2 separate regions of the Homo sapiens genome follow, and region 2 is linked to region 1. Evidence: promoter capture Hi-C in human tissues and cell types (Jung and others, 2019). All regions are on one chromosome and are shown on one strand. Each heading gives the region's core, a stretch centred on a gene start or on the middle of the fragment in contact. The rest is flanking DNA. Distances are from core to core; before and after follow the strand shown. Region 1 holds the start of IL31 (interleukin 31). Region 2 overlaps CLIP1 (CAP-Gly domain containing linker protein 1).

Region 1 (7,060 bases), core at 2,709-5,208:
TCCACCACACTGGATATTTTCTGGAAAGATCACCAAAACCTTGTCATTGGAAACTAGGATATCTGGGGGCTTAAATGCCTGCTACGGGGCCGGGCACGGTGGCTCACACCTGTAATCCCAGCACTTTGGGAGGCCAAGGCAGGCGGATCACAAGGTCAGGAGATCGAGACCATCCTGGCTAACACGGTGAAACCCCGTCTCTACTAAAAATACAAAAAATTAGCCGGGCGTGGTGGCGGGCGCCTGTAGTCCCAGCTACTTGGGAGGCTGAGGCAGGAGAATCGCTTGAACCTGGGAGGCGGAGCTTGCAGTGAGCCGAGATTGCACCACTGCACTCCAGCCTGGGTGACAGAGTGAGACTCTCCGAAGGAAAAAAAACAAAAAAGCCTGCTAGGGGCTGCAGTAGAAATACCTGTGAGAATAAAAATGAGAAGTCCAAGACTGAAGTGCGTGTCTCAGAGTCCTAACCACATCCCTCCTTACATATGGACTTGTGCAAACCACACCTCTTCGGTCCTCAGTTTCCCCCGAGATAAGATGAATATATAGGTGCTGGTAGACTCAAGATTAGTGGTTCTCAAACTTGAGGGTGTATTAGAATCCCCTGGAGGGCCCCATAAAGCCCAGATTTCTGTCTCCACCCACAGACCTTCCGATTCAGTAGGTCTGGGGTGAGACCCAATGATTGACATTTCTAAAATGTTGCCACGGGCTGCTGCTGCTGCTGCTGGGCCAGGGACCACGTTTTGAGTCCGGGTGATCTCTAAGAAGCCTTAACAGTTGTGGACTTAACATTGATTCAAATGACAAAATCTTTGGACCTGGCTAGGAAGAAGTCCCCTAGGCCCTGAAAACCCAGTGGGGAGTTGTGCAGAGGACACTGTAAGATTGCTGCATGCCGCGCCTGGCATTGACAGCCTGTGAGGCCCAACCACTGCCCGGGGAGGGTCAAAGCCTGAGTAAGGCAGAGAAGCTCAGGCTGGAAACTGGGCTCCACCCCTTAACAGCTGTGTGGCCTTGAGCAAGTGACTGACTGACTTCCTGCCTCAGTTTCCCTACCTATGAAAAGAGGATGGTGCTTAACATGACCTGGCATAAAGAAAATGCTCAATGAGTGTTTATTGCTGCTGAGGTCTTGCTTTGTCTCTGGAGTGAGTGGTGCTGTCCTAGCTCACTGCAGCCTCGAACTCCTGGGCTCAAGCAATCCTCCCACCTCAGCCTCCCAAGTAGCACACCACCATGTCTGGCTAATTTTTTTGTTTTGTTTTGGGTTGGTTTTTTTAGAGATGGGATCTTGCTATGTTGCCCAGGCTGGTCCGAAACTCTGGCCCCAAGCAGTCCTCCAGCCTTAGCTTCCCAAAGTGCTGGGATATCTGATCTGTGTTACAACCCTATGAGGCTGTGGCCATCACCATCGCCATTTCCAGACGAAACTAGCCACCGTGTACCACCAGGGTCATTATTTCTTTTCTCTTTCTTTTTTTTAAATAGAGATGGGGTCTCACTATGTTGCCCAGGCTGGTCTGGAACTCCTGGGCTCAAGTGATCCTCCTGCCTTTATCTCCCAAAGTGCTGGGATTGCAGGTGTGAGCCACAGTGCCTGGCTCAGGGTCATTATTTTTTATTGAGCCCGTCCAGTGGGAAGAAATGACAGTGGTAGAAGCGATACCTCTTTCTAGAGCATGTCCATCTGCCCTCTGCCACAACTCTACCCAGCTTGGAGTCCCATTTGCCAATGTCAAGCCCCTCACAAAATGTGTCACAGATTATGAGAAAAATTCAATATAATTTATTAAATAGATTCCGAGGGCTCCCCCAGGGAGCATTGACAACTCTTAGTACAATAAATATCAATAAATTAACATAGCTGCCACCTCCCACCCTCACGAGGGTATAATAAGTAAGACTTAAGCCTGCAGAAGAAAAGCATTCCATAAATACCAAGACTAATAACAATAACCTAATGTTTTTCAAGGTAATTCACAAATTCACATCTCAGCCCTCCCGGGACTAGCCCATATGAGGGGTCCCTGAGATTATTCATTGGAAAAATGTACTTAAGGAATCACGGCAGAGTTCCCACACTTAGCTGTCGGTCATCTTTTTAAGGCTCCTTAAGTTCCTGCCAATCCGAAAGGAAGAGATGGCCTTAAGTGGTGGCCTGTTGGGCTCCAGAGGTCAATGATTTTAGTGCGAGGTCCATGCACTCTGAAAACTGTTGAGAAATAGTCAGGATGAAGCGTTTACATTCATGGGTGTCTGTTGGCACAGAAATGTTTGTTTCTGGTGCATCTTGAAATATGAGTTTGTCGAGGTGCTCTATGATCTCATCAATAACAGATTTGTTGTCTAGCTGTCTGATTGTCTTGAGATATGCCCGGATGGCTGGGCTGTGGATGTTGTTTGGCGGCTGGGCGTCAGGGCTGAGACACGGCAGCGTGTAATTCTGGGACACGAGCACGCCCTTCTCTTCCTCCACCTGTGGAATGAGGAGAAATGGTCAGTGTTGGGTTTGCAATGACAGCTGCAAGTCTTAACAGTGAATGTTTGCATGCTTCCTCCGTAACCCGCCTCGTTGATATATTTATCTGATCAATGTCACAACCCTATGAGGCTGTGCCATCACCAACCCCATTTCCAGATGAAACTAGAGCTTAGGTGGCTGCAGTCCTGAAGCCTGTGCTCAGAACCACTGATCCATCCAGCTGAGGCCTCCCAGCCTTCCAGAACCCACTCTCACGTGCTCAGGGTGGTGGGAATTGCAGCACATCTGGCCTTCCATGGCAGCTCCCCGCCCTTTGGGACTCTGTGTTAAAGCCACGCACGCTCCACTTATAAAGGAGAGTGTTAGGCTTGTCCGGAAAGGCCTCCGAGATGCAGGCGAGAGTTTTCCCCAACAAACCAAGGAGTCCGGACCACTCCCTCCCTTCCTCTTTCTAAGTACTAACTAGAGTCAGACCAAATTGCCAGCAGCACCTCATCAACCTGAACTGCCCAGTCATCTTGGGTTGGTAACAACCTCTGCCTTTTATAAAAGCCAAGGCTAAGGTCTAAATACCAAGGCAGATGAGAAGAGTAATGCCAATTTTATGAATTGTTTCCAAGTTTGGGCATTTGTTTGTTTGATCAAAGCTATCTTGGCTGGGCACAGTGGCTCACGCCTGTAATCCCAGCACTTTGGGAGGCCAAGGCAGGCGGATCACTTGAGGTCAGGAGTTCAAGACCAGCCTGGCCAACGTGGAGAAACTCTGTCTCTACTAAAAATATGAAAATTAGCTGGGCGTGGTGGCGCATGCCTGTAGTCCCAGCTACTCGGGAGGCTGAGGCAGGAGAATCGCTTGAACCCAGGAAGCAGAGGTTGCAGTGAGCCAAGATTGCACCACTGCACTCCAGCCTGGGTGACAGAGTAAGACTCTGTCTCAAAAAAAAAAAAAAAGCCATCTTTGCCTGTCTAGTTTCCCCCATCCCTTCCTGGCATAGCTACAGCCCTGGTTTCAGGTCCGGAGAGAGGAGCCTCTTTGGAGGGCAATGGAAGGCATTTTTAAGAAATCGTTTAGAAAAGAAATCTCTAGGACACTCACATCTTTCAAAAGCATCTTCGAGAGGGACTGTAATTCCTCGACTATTTTCTGTACATCATCACTTGGTCGTAGTAAACGGACGGGCAACGTGTGGGAGGCCAGCCAGCCTCCCAGGCAGCAGAACAGAAAGAGCACAGACGTCGAGGGGCCTGGAGAGAGAACGATGCCGTGAGCGCATACATCACACACCCCTGCCCACCCTGGCTCCATCCCTGCAGCCCTGCTGAGCCAACCCTGGGGGTAGTGCTTCCAGAATCTTCCTGGTGAGATAAGATGATGCCCAAGACTCCGGAAGCACCAGGACCAGTGATACCTGAGTGAGAGGCCATGGCGAGAGAGAGCAAGGCCAGCTTCAGTGGGGGCTTCTGGAGCCAGATGTGTTCGCCATGGCTGCCTGGAGGTATATAAAGGGCCAGGGTGAGGAGAAAGAGCAGTCAGCGTCCCGCCCATGGCAAAACCATTTACTCAGCTTTTCTCCAGAAAACACTCAAAAGTTCTACTGGCCACGGCTGAGTGAAAGGGCTGAATGGAAATGCTGAGGTTACCCTCCAGGTGGGCAGATGCCTGACTCAGACACACACATACTTCACAAGAAGGCACATGAATGCATCTTTGCCATTCTTCTTGGAAGGAGCCTGTTGATTTGACTAGACAAAATTTTGAAGCCCAGGGTTGACAGACACGACCATACCACCAAGGAGCGGGTGACTTCCAGGAGTTCAAGGCCAGCGGCCACAGGGAATTTCTGGGGAGGAAATGCGAAGCCGGCATGAGATGTGCAGAATGCGGTATCTCTGGAAATTTCTGCAGCATATGCCCACGCCGGTGTGCAGGGACGGCCCCATAACTGCTGTGAATGTGGCGGGTCGAAGGCTTCATCTCAACTCCATGTGGCCTTGGACATCACTGGACTCTCCATCGTGCCTCTGCAATCTCAGGGCCCAGAACCAGAGACTGTGATCCAGAGTTATTGCTTGAAATCCTTGTTCATATCTTTTTTCTTTTTTTTTTTTTTGAGATGGAGTCTTGCTCTGTCACCCAGGCTGGAGTGCGGTGGCGTGATCACTGCAACCTCTGTCTCCTGGGCTCAAGCAATTCTCATGCCTCAGTCTCAGCCTCCCAAGTAGCTGGGACTACAGGCACGTGCCACCATGCCCAGCTAATTTTTGTATTTTTAGTAGAAATGGGGTTTCGCCATGTTGGTCAAGCTGGTCTCTAACTCCTGACCTCAGGTGATCTGCCTGCCTCGGCTTCCCAAAGTGCTGGAATTACAGGCATGAGCCACTGCGCCAGCCTAGAAACTTTATTGCTTTTCTTTCTTTCTTTCTTTCTTTCTTTTTTTTTGAGACAGAGTCTTGCTCTGTCGCCTGGGCTGGAGTGCAGTAGCGCAATCTCGGCTCACTGCAACCTCCACTTCCCAGGTTCAAGCAATTCTCTTGCCTCAGCCTCCTGAGTGGCTGGGATTACAGGCGCCCACCACCACGCACAGCTAATTTTTGTATTTTTAGTAGAGACGGGGTTCACTATGTTGGCCAGGCTGGTCTCAAACGCCTGACCTTGTGATCCACCTGCCTCCGCCTCTCAAAGTGCTGGGATTACAGGTGCGAGCCACCACTCTGGCCTTAGAAACTATTTCTAAGTTCATTAGCTTTCTTTTTCTTTCTTTTTTTTTTTTTTTGAGACAGGGTCTCATTCTGTCACCCAGGCCAGAGTGCAGTGGCATCATCACAACTCACGGCAGCCCCGATCCCCTGGGCTCAAGTGATCCTCCTACCTCAGCCTCCCAAATAGCTGGGACCACAGGCACAAATCACTATGCTAATTTTTTTTTTTCTTTTTTGAGACAGAGTTTCGCTCTTGTTGCCCAGGCTGGAGTGCAATAGCACGATCTCGGCTCACTGCAACCTCCGCCTCCTGGGTTCAAGCGATTCTCCTGCCTTAGCCTCCCGAGAAGCTGGGATTACAGGCACCCACCACCACGCCGGGCTAATTTTTGTATTTTTAGTAGAGACGGGGTTTCACCATGTTGGCCAGGCTGGCCTCTATCTCCTGACCTCAGGTGATCTGCCCGCCTCAGATTCCCAAACTGCTGGGATTATAGGCATGAGCGACTGCACCCGGCCTCCTTATTCATATTTTAGTGCCAGCTTTGATCAGGCCATTTTATAGGGTATCGGGAATAGCGGTGAAGAAGTTAGAGTTCCTGCCCTTGTGGGCCCGTCATTGCTGTGGGCTGCGGACAATAGCAACAACATTCATAAATAAGCTAGAAAGCACTGTGACGGTTGGAGAGTGACGGGCAGGATACTTTAAGTCAGGTGATCAGCAAAAGTCTCTCTGAGAGGTGACATTGAAGAAGAGACTGAAAGACAAGAAGGAGCCAGTTGTGGGAAGACCTGGGAGAAGAGTGTTCCAAGGCAACGGGACAGGAGTGCAAAATCCTCAGGTGAAAATGAGCTCGATGCTGTTCCTAGAACGGGAAGAGGGTCATGGCAGCCACAGTGACGCGAGAGGACAGGAGGGTAGTGGGGAGGTGGGCAGCGGCTCCATCACAGAGGCCTGAGGCTGGGACAAAGAGCCTGGGTTTTATTCCACATGTGACGAGGCAGTGCTGGGCGGCTTTCAGTAGGGAAACATAAGATCAGATGCACTTTATTTTTTTCTTTTCTTAATTGTTTTGTCTTTTGTTTTGTTTTTTTTTTTGGAGAGAAGATCTCAAGCGATCCTCCCACCTTGGCTTCCCAAAGTTCTGGGATTACAGGCATGAGTCACCATGCCTAGCCCTGATGAACTTTATTTATTAGTAGTAGTAGCATTTTTTTTTTTCTTAAGACAGAGTCTCACTTTGTCGCACAGGCAGGAGTGAAGTGGCGCAATCTCAGCTCACTGCAACCTCCACCTCCCCTGTTCAAGCAATTCTCGTGCCTCAGCCTCCTGAGTAGCTGGGATCACAGGCATGTACCACCATGCCTGGCTAATTCTTGTATTTTTAGTAGAGATGGAGTTTCACCATGTTGGGATGAGGTCAGTCTGGGCAGCCCACAGAACTCAAGGTGCACAGAGGGGACACAGCCAGGAAGCCCTCCCACCCATCATCCCAAGTCCCCCTGCCGCCAGCCACCACTGACTTTTTCTTTACTTCCCAAACTGCCACAATATGGCTTTCACCACCCCACTAATGTAATCAATATCCTCTAGCAGAGTCCATGGTAGGCATGACCTTCATCCACAGGTGTTTACTGCCATAATTATGTTGCATTGCATGGCAAAAGGGGTTTTGTGGATGTAGTCATGATTACTATTCAGTTTACCTAAAATAGAGAGATTTTCCTGCATTCCCTGGGCCTCCCCAATGCAATCCCATGAGCCCATAAAGCAGAAGAGGAAGTCAGAGAGATTACGAGCAAGAGAAGGGCTCACCTGCTGTTGCTGGCTTGAAGATGGTGGGGGGCAGCGTGGAAAGCACGAGAAGGAAATAA
Region 2 (7,060 bases), core at 1,759-4,258, 170 kb after region 1:
GCAGCGGAGATTACAGGCACGTGCCACTACAGCTAATGTTTAAAAAATTTTTTTACAGATGGGGTCTCTGGCTGGGCTCGGTGGCTAATGCCTGTAATCCCAACACTTTGGGAGGCTGAGGCAAGTGGATCATTTGAGGTCAGGAGTTCAACACCAGCCTGGCCAATATGGTGAAACCCTATCTCTACTAAAAATACAAAAATTAACTGGGCATGGTGGCACGCTCCTGTAATCCCGCTACTTGGGAGGCTGAGGCAGAAGAATCGCTTGAGCCTGGGAGGCGGAGGTTGGGTGAGCCGAGACCAGACCACTGCACTCCAGTCTGGGTGACACAGTGGGACTCTGCCTCAAAAAAAAAAAAAAAAGAAAGAAAAGAGAGATGGGGTCTCACCATGCTGCCCAGGCTGGTCTCAAACTCCTAGACCCAAGCAATCCTCTTATTTTGGACTCTCAAAGTGCTGGGATTAGAGGCATGAGCCACTGTGCCCAGAGACTATTTTTAAATAGTCAAAATAGACTATTTTTCTATACTTCATTGTAACTTGGAGTATCAGCATGATCTAAAGCAGAAGGTGTGGATGCTTACTTTCTAAATGAGCTACTTGAGCAATTTCATTTCCTAGACTTTAAAAACCTTGGCTGGTCACGGTGGCTCACGCCTGTAATCCCAGCACTTTGGGAGGCAGAGGTGGGCGGATCACGAAGTCAGGAGATCGAGGCCATCCTGGCCAACATGGTGAAACCCCATCTCTACTAAAAATATAAAAAATTAGCCAGGCGTGGTGGCACGCACCTGTAGTCCCAGCTACTCAGGAGGCTGAGGCAGGAGAATCGCTTGAACCTGGGAGGTGGAGGCTACAGTGAGCCGAGATCATGCCACTGCACTCCAGCCTGGGCCACAGAGCGAGACTCTGTCTCAAAAAAAAAAAAAACAAAACCAAAACCAAAAAACCTTAAGGCCAGGCACAGTGGCTCACACCTGTTATCCCAGCACATTGGGAGGCCGAGGTCAGCAGATCTCAGCTGAGGTCAGGAGTTCAAGACCAGCCCGGCCAACGTGGTGAAATCCTGTCTCTACTAAAAATACAAAAATTAGCCAGGCGTGGTGGCACACACCTGTGATCCCAGCTACTGGGGAAGCTGAAGCAGGAGAATCCCTTGAGCCTGGGAGGCGGAGGCTGCAGTGAGGGTGACAGAACGAGACTCTGTCTTAAAAAATAAATAAATAAAAACAAAAACCTTAAGATGCGAATATATGTGGTCTACATTATTTTCTCTATTTGTGTATATGCTTAAAGTAGTTTGACATTTAAATAAAATTTAAAAATCCACTGGACAGGCAAGGTGCAGTGGCTGAAGCCTATAATCCCAGCACTTTGGGAGGCCGAGGTCAGTGGATCACTTGAGGTCAGGAGTTCGAGACCACCCTGGCCAACATGGTGAAACCCTCTCTCTATTAAAAATACAAAAATGAGCCAGGCATGATGGCGGGCGCCTGTAATCCTGGCTACTCGGGAGGCTGAGGCAGGAGAATCGCTTGAACCTGGGAGGTGGAGGTTGCAGTGACTCGAGATTGTGCCACTGCACTCCAGCCTGCGCAACAGAGTGAGACTGTCTCAAAAAAACAGAACAAAACAAAACAAAAAAATCCACTGGACAATAGTCATTAGAACTTGGCTTTCATGAAATCTTGATGTTAAAAAGTAAACTAGCATTAGCTAAATATTATCTTCTAATTAATTTTTGTGTTTTGATTAGTATTTCGGAACCACATGAGGAGATTTGAGAAAAATTTCCTGTAACCAGTTTGTCATCTTCGACTATGGTTAGTTAGCAATTTTTTGCTGTTTGTCAGTCCTCACCTCACCCCATTTAACCATCACAACCCTTCCTTCTTTGCCAATAGAGCAGCTTCTCCCACAAAAAAGTTCAGAACATTGAGCATCAATACCAGTGCCTCAACTAGTGGCAGGACTGGGAAACAATTCCTCGAACCACCTTTAAAGATAAAGATGACATTTAACAAGGCTAGTTAGTAAGGAATGCAGCTGGCGAATGTTTCACGTAATTTCCTAAGCCTTGACCACATGCACACTTGTTCAGTATTTCCCCCAGAAAAGGAGGGGACAGATCATGTTCTCATTATGCCACAGAAAAAAACTCCAATGAGATTTCTGCCATGCAAAGGGCTCCAAGCTCTTACCCTTAATTTTGCTGTGAATGTTATTTATCACAGCATGGGTTTTTTTTTGTTTTTTGGAGATGGAGTCTTGCTCTGTCGCCCAGGATGGGGTACAGTGGCACGATCTCAGCTCACTGCCACCTCCACCTCCCGGGTTCAAGCAATTCTTGTGCCTCAGCCTCCTGAGTAGCTGGGACTACAGACGCACACCACCACACCTGGCTAATTTTTGTATTTTTAGTAGACAGGGGCCAGGCTGGACTCAAACTCCTGACCTCAACTGATCCGCCTGCCTCAGCCTCCCAAAGCACTGGGATTACAGGCATGAGCCACCTTGCCCGGCCAACATGTTAATTTATAATAGTCAAGAAGCACTGAATTCAGTCTGTTTTTATACATAACCCTATAGATAAGCAATTACAGTCATGCATTGCTTAAGAACCAGGATATCTTATGAGAAATGCATCATTAGGCATTTCATTGTTGTGGGGACATCACAGGGTGCACTTACACACACCTAGAAGGTATAGTCTACTACACACCTGGGCTACGTGGCACAGCCTATTGTTCCTATACTATAAACCTGTATAAAATGTTACTGTACTGAATGTTGTAGGCAACTGTAACACAATGCTAAGTATTTGTGTATCAAAGCATATTTAAACATACAAAAGGTAAAGATACCATATTACAATCTTATGGAACCGCCTTTGTTTATGTGGTCCATTGTTGATTGAAACATCATTATGTGGCACCTGACTATATGTGGTTAGAAGAGGAGGAGATGATCTTTTAAGCTTTTTTTTTTTTTTTCCTTTAGACAGAGTCTTGCTCTGTCTCCCAGGCTGGAGTGCAGTGGAATAATCTCAGGTCACTGCAACCTCCGCCTCCCGGGTTGTTCAAGTGATTCTCCTGCCTCAGCCTCCTGGGTAGCTGGGATTACAGGTGTCCGCCACCATGCCAGGCTAATTTTGTATTTTTAGTAGAGATGGGGTTTCACTATGTTGGCCAGGCTGATCTCGAACTCCTGACCTCAGGTGATCACCTGCCTCAGCCTCCCAAAGTGCTGGGATTACAGGCGTGAGCCACTGCGCCTGGCCGATCTTTTGAGTTTCTGTTCATTCATTCATCTTAACACCATAGTGTTAGGGCATTCTTTATTTTAAACAGATTATAGACTGGAGCTAAGCTTAAATTAGAAGTCACAGCATAGCCCAGAGATAAATAGATCAGGTACCCAGATAACAGGCAACCAAAATAAATTCACATGGTTGAGCCATTATTTTCTCTAATCTCCTCAGATGAAACCATACTTGAGATACTCAGAACATACTACACTATACTCAACTGGGGACATCAAGCAATTTAATTAAATCAGCAATTTGGAAGATGAATGATCTCAACTCAAAAGTAACATAATGCAAAACAAGAATAACAAATGGAAAAGAAAAGAATGGAGGATGTCAATACAAACCTTGCTACTTTCAGCATTCTTTTCAATCTCTAAATGTTTAATCTGTTTCTCAGCTGCCTCAAGCTGCTGTCTAAGTTTCTTCATTTCCGATTTACCTTCGGAACTGGCTTTCCGAAGTGCATCAAGATCCAAGAGCTTTTCTTCAGTAGCCTTGAGCTGTGATGTAAAATTATCAATAACCTTGGTTTGTTCATTGCATTTGGCTTGCAGTACCTCTAGCTCCTTTACCTTTATTTCAGCTTCCTGTAATTTGTTTAACGTGTCTTCCATTTCTACGAGATGCTGGTCTTCTGCTTTGTCCAGTTTCGACCTGATGGCTTCCAGACTGTTTTCCTTTTCTTTAATAACTTTCATCAGTTTAGCCCTCAAGGCTTCCATCTCTTTAGCATGGGCAGCCCGTTCAGAGTCTTGTTGATTCTGCAAATTTTCTATTTCGTGTTGGTAATCTAGTCTCATTTTCTCTATTTGTGTTTTTAGTTCAGCAAATTCTGCCGTCTCTGTTCCAAGCCCTTTGCTGAAAGATACCTTCAGTTCTTCCATCGCCTGCTGGTGGGATGCGATGGCAGTCTCCAGTTTGGACTTCCATAGAGCTATCACATCTGAGTTCTCTTTGTTGGCATGCTCCAGCTTGCTTTTCAATGACTCGTTCTCTTTGGAAAGCTTTTCCGTGGCGGTATACAGAGCCTTTATCTCCTTCTGATGAGTTTCTTCCCGGGCTCCAAAATGCTCCTTCAGAGAAGTTATTTCTCTCTGGTGGTCAGTACGGGTGACTTCTAACTTTTCTTGCAAAGAGCTTATCTCTTGCAAAAGGGAAAGTGACATGTCCACATCCCCAGCAGGCTTATTGGACTCTAGCCTTCTTCGGAGCTCAGCTACTTCCTGTACTCTCAATGCTAGGTCTTTCTCCAGTTCCATTATACGTGACTTTTCTGAAACTGTAGCCACCTATTAACAGCAGTCCAAAGAAAAAAAGATCATTTAAATAACAAGTCATTGACTATTTTCTTTTCTTTTTTTTTTTTTTTTTTTTTTTTTTTTTTTTTTTTTTGAGATGGAGTTTCGCTCTTCTTACCCAGGCTGGAGTACAATGGTGCGATCTCAGCTCACTGCAACCTCCACCTCCTGGGTTCAGGCGATTCTCCTGCCTCAGCCTCCTGAGTAGCTAGGATTACAGGCATGCGCCACCACACCCAGCTAATTTTTGCATTTTTAGTAGAGATGGGGTTTCACCATGTTGGTTAGGCTGGTCTCAAACTCCTGACCTCAGGTGATCCACTCGCCCCGGCCTCCCAAAGTGCTGGGATTACAGGCATGAGCCACTGCACCTGGCCTGATTATTTTCTTTAACACTGAAGATATTTAATAACTACCCCATCTCAGGCAGCAAACTATTATGAACGTTTATAGGTTAATATATATTTCTAACTGTGATAATGGCTTAAGTCCAACTTTAGTATCTCCAATTCTAAAGAAGCTTAAATCAGATAAATATCCATTAACTGATAAGTTAACAGAAACAGTAACTTTCAAAGTTCACAGATATAACTGCCTCCTGAAAGAAAACATTTCCTTATTTTGCCAGTTTGTCCTACCCCACTTCATCCAGGTTGCATAAATGCTTATCCATTTCATGGAGGTGATCTTATAGAACTGTGCCATCCGGAACAGTAGCTGTTGGCCACACGTGGCTATTGAGCACTTGAGATGTGGCTCATCTGAAGTGAGGTGTGGTATAAGTGCAAAATACACATCAGATTTTGAAGACTTAGAAGAAAAGGATCACAAAATGTCTTGTGGGCCAAGTGCAGTGGCTCACGCCTGTAATCCCACCACTTTGGGAGGCCGAGGCAGAAGGATCACTTGAGGCCAGGAGTTCAAGATCAGTCTCGGCAACACAGCAAGACCCCGTCTTTGCAAAAAATAAAAAATTAGCCAGGCATGGTGGTGTCGCCTGTGGTAACAGGTACTTGGGAGGCTAAGACGGGAGGATTGCTTGAGTCTAGGAGGTTGAGGCTATAGTGAGTAATTGTGCCATTGTACTCCAGCCTGGGAGACAGAGCACGACTCTGTCTCTAAAAAAAAAAAAAAACAAACTGAAATTATATTTTAAAATGTTTAAAATATCTTAATAATTTTATTTTGATTAATATTTTGAATATATCAGTTACATAAAATATATTATTAAAACTAATTTAACTTGTGACTTACAAAAAAGTAATGTGGGTACCAGAAAATTATAAATTGTACATGTGTGGCTTACATTATACTTCTATTGGACAGCACTTGCATAAAAGGTCTAAAATTACCTATCAAATGTTTCAATGAATAACACATCACCTGTAGAATGAAAGCCTCAATTGAAGAATGAAGAATTAATTTACTAAACTTTTTTTTTTTTTTTTTTTGAGATGGAGTTTTGCTTTCGTTGCCCAGTGCAATGGCGCGATCCCAGCTCACTGCAACCTCCACCTCCCAGGTTCAAGCGATTCTCCTGCCTCAGCCTTCCAAGTAGCTGGGATTACAGGCATGTGCCACCAGACCTGGCTAATTTTGCATTTTTAGTAGAGACGGGGTTTCACTATGTTGGTCAGGCTGGTCTCGAACTCCTGACCTCCAGTGATCCACCCACCTTGGCCTCCCAAAGTGCTGGGATTACAGGCGTGAGCCACCACGCCTGGCCTACTGATCATTTTATTAAAACACAAAGTAAGAATGATTACTTACCTGCAATAATACACAAGAATCTTACACAAAATCCCCTTTTTAGATATGATAATTCTATCAGCATTTTGATGTAAACATCTTCTTCCCCTAACCCCCTAACCCAGTGGTTCTCAGACATTAGTACGCACATGAATCACCTGGAATGTACATCTAACCTGCAAGTTTCTACCTATTCCCATGTACTTCGATTCTATTTGAGCTCCGGGATAGTACCCAAGAATCTTCTTCCTTTAAATAAATACCCCAGGGCTAGAAAAACACTTTCTTAACCTGTGCCCTTTCATTGCTAGAAAATTACTTCCCTCTGCTACCTGCTATGCAGTCCATTTAGTACATAGGATGTGTGGAAAATAGCTTCCATCACAAAAATTCTTGGACTAATCTGGGAAATGAAAGGGAACAAAATAATTTTAAAACAGCAGTGAGTCCCATATTTCAAGGATCAAAACTCCTGTGATTGGCTGGGTGAGGTGGTACATGCCTATATACCTAGCACTTTGGGAGGCCAAGGCAAGAGGATCACTTGTGGCCAGGAGTTCAAGATCAGCCTGGGCAACACAGCGAGAACTCCATCTCTACAAAAAAATGTTAAATATTCTTCTGAATTTAAGACTCCTCTCCCACACTGCCTTTCTTTGAGACAGAAAATAACAGATATGTTTTCTTTCATTTCCTCTGTC

What was found. The method cuts DNA at HindIII sites, captures the fragments that hold promoters and counts their contacts. A contact is called where the count stands out against the background at its distance.
Region 2: a contact is called between a fragment that was not itself captured here and the fragment with the promoter of IL31 in region 1, in 2 of the 25 tissues and cell types used here (dorsolateral prefrontal cortex and pancreas).

Annotation. Positions count from the first base shown.
Region 1 is chr12:122,170,263-122,177,322 of GRCh38, forward strand. It overlaps IL31 (interleukin 31), which reads right to left and starts at 3,959. Exons shown (of 3, transcript NM_001014336.2): 1 at 3,895-3,959; 2 at 3,582-3,730; 3 at 1,767-2,479. The coding sequence starts at 3,910. The coding sequence ends at 2,150. It also overlaps a transcript of LRRC43 not described here. The HindIII fragment of the contact is 15,918 bases long and covers 1-7,060 here.
Region 2 is chr12:122,337,097-122,344,156 of GRCh38, forward strand. It overlaps CLIP1 (CAP-Gly domain containing linker protein 1), which reads right to left. Exons shown (of 26, transcript NM_001247997.2): 11 at 3,657-4,601. Among named protein-coding and RNA genes, the nearest start is that of CLIP1-AS1, 55 kb to the right of the region's middle. The HindIII fragment of the contact is 3,429 bases long and covers 1,295-4,723 here.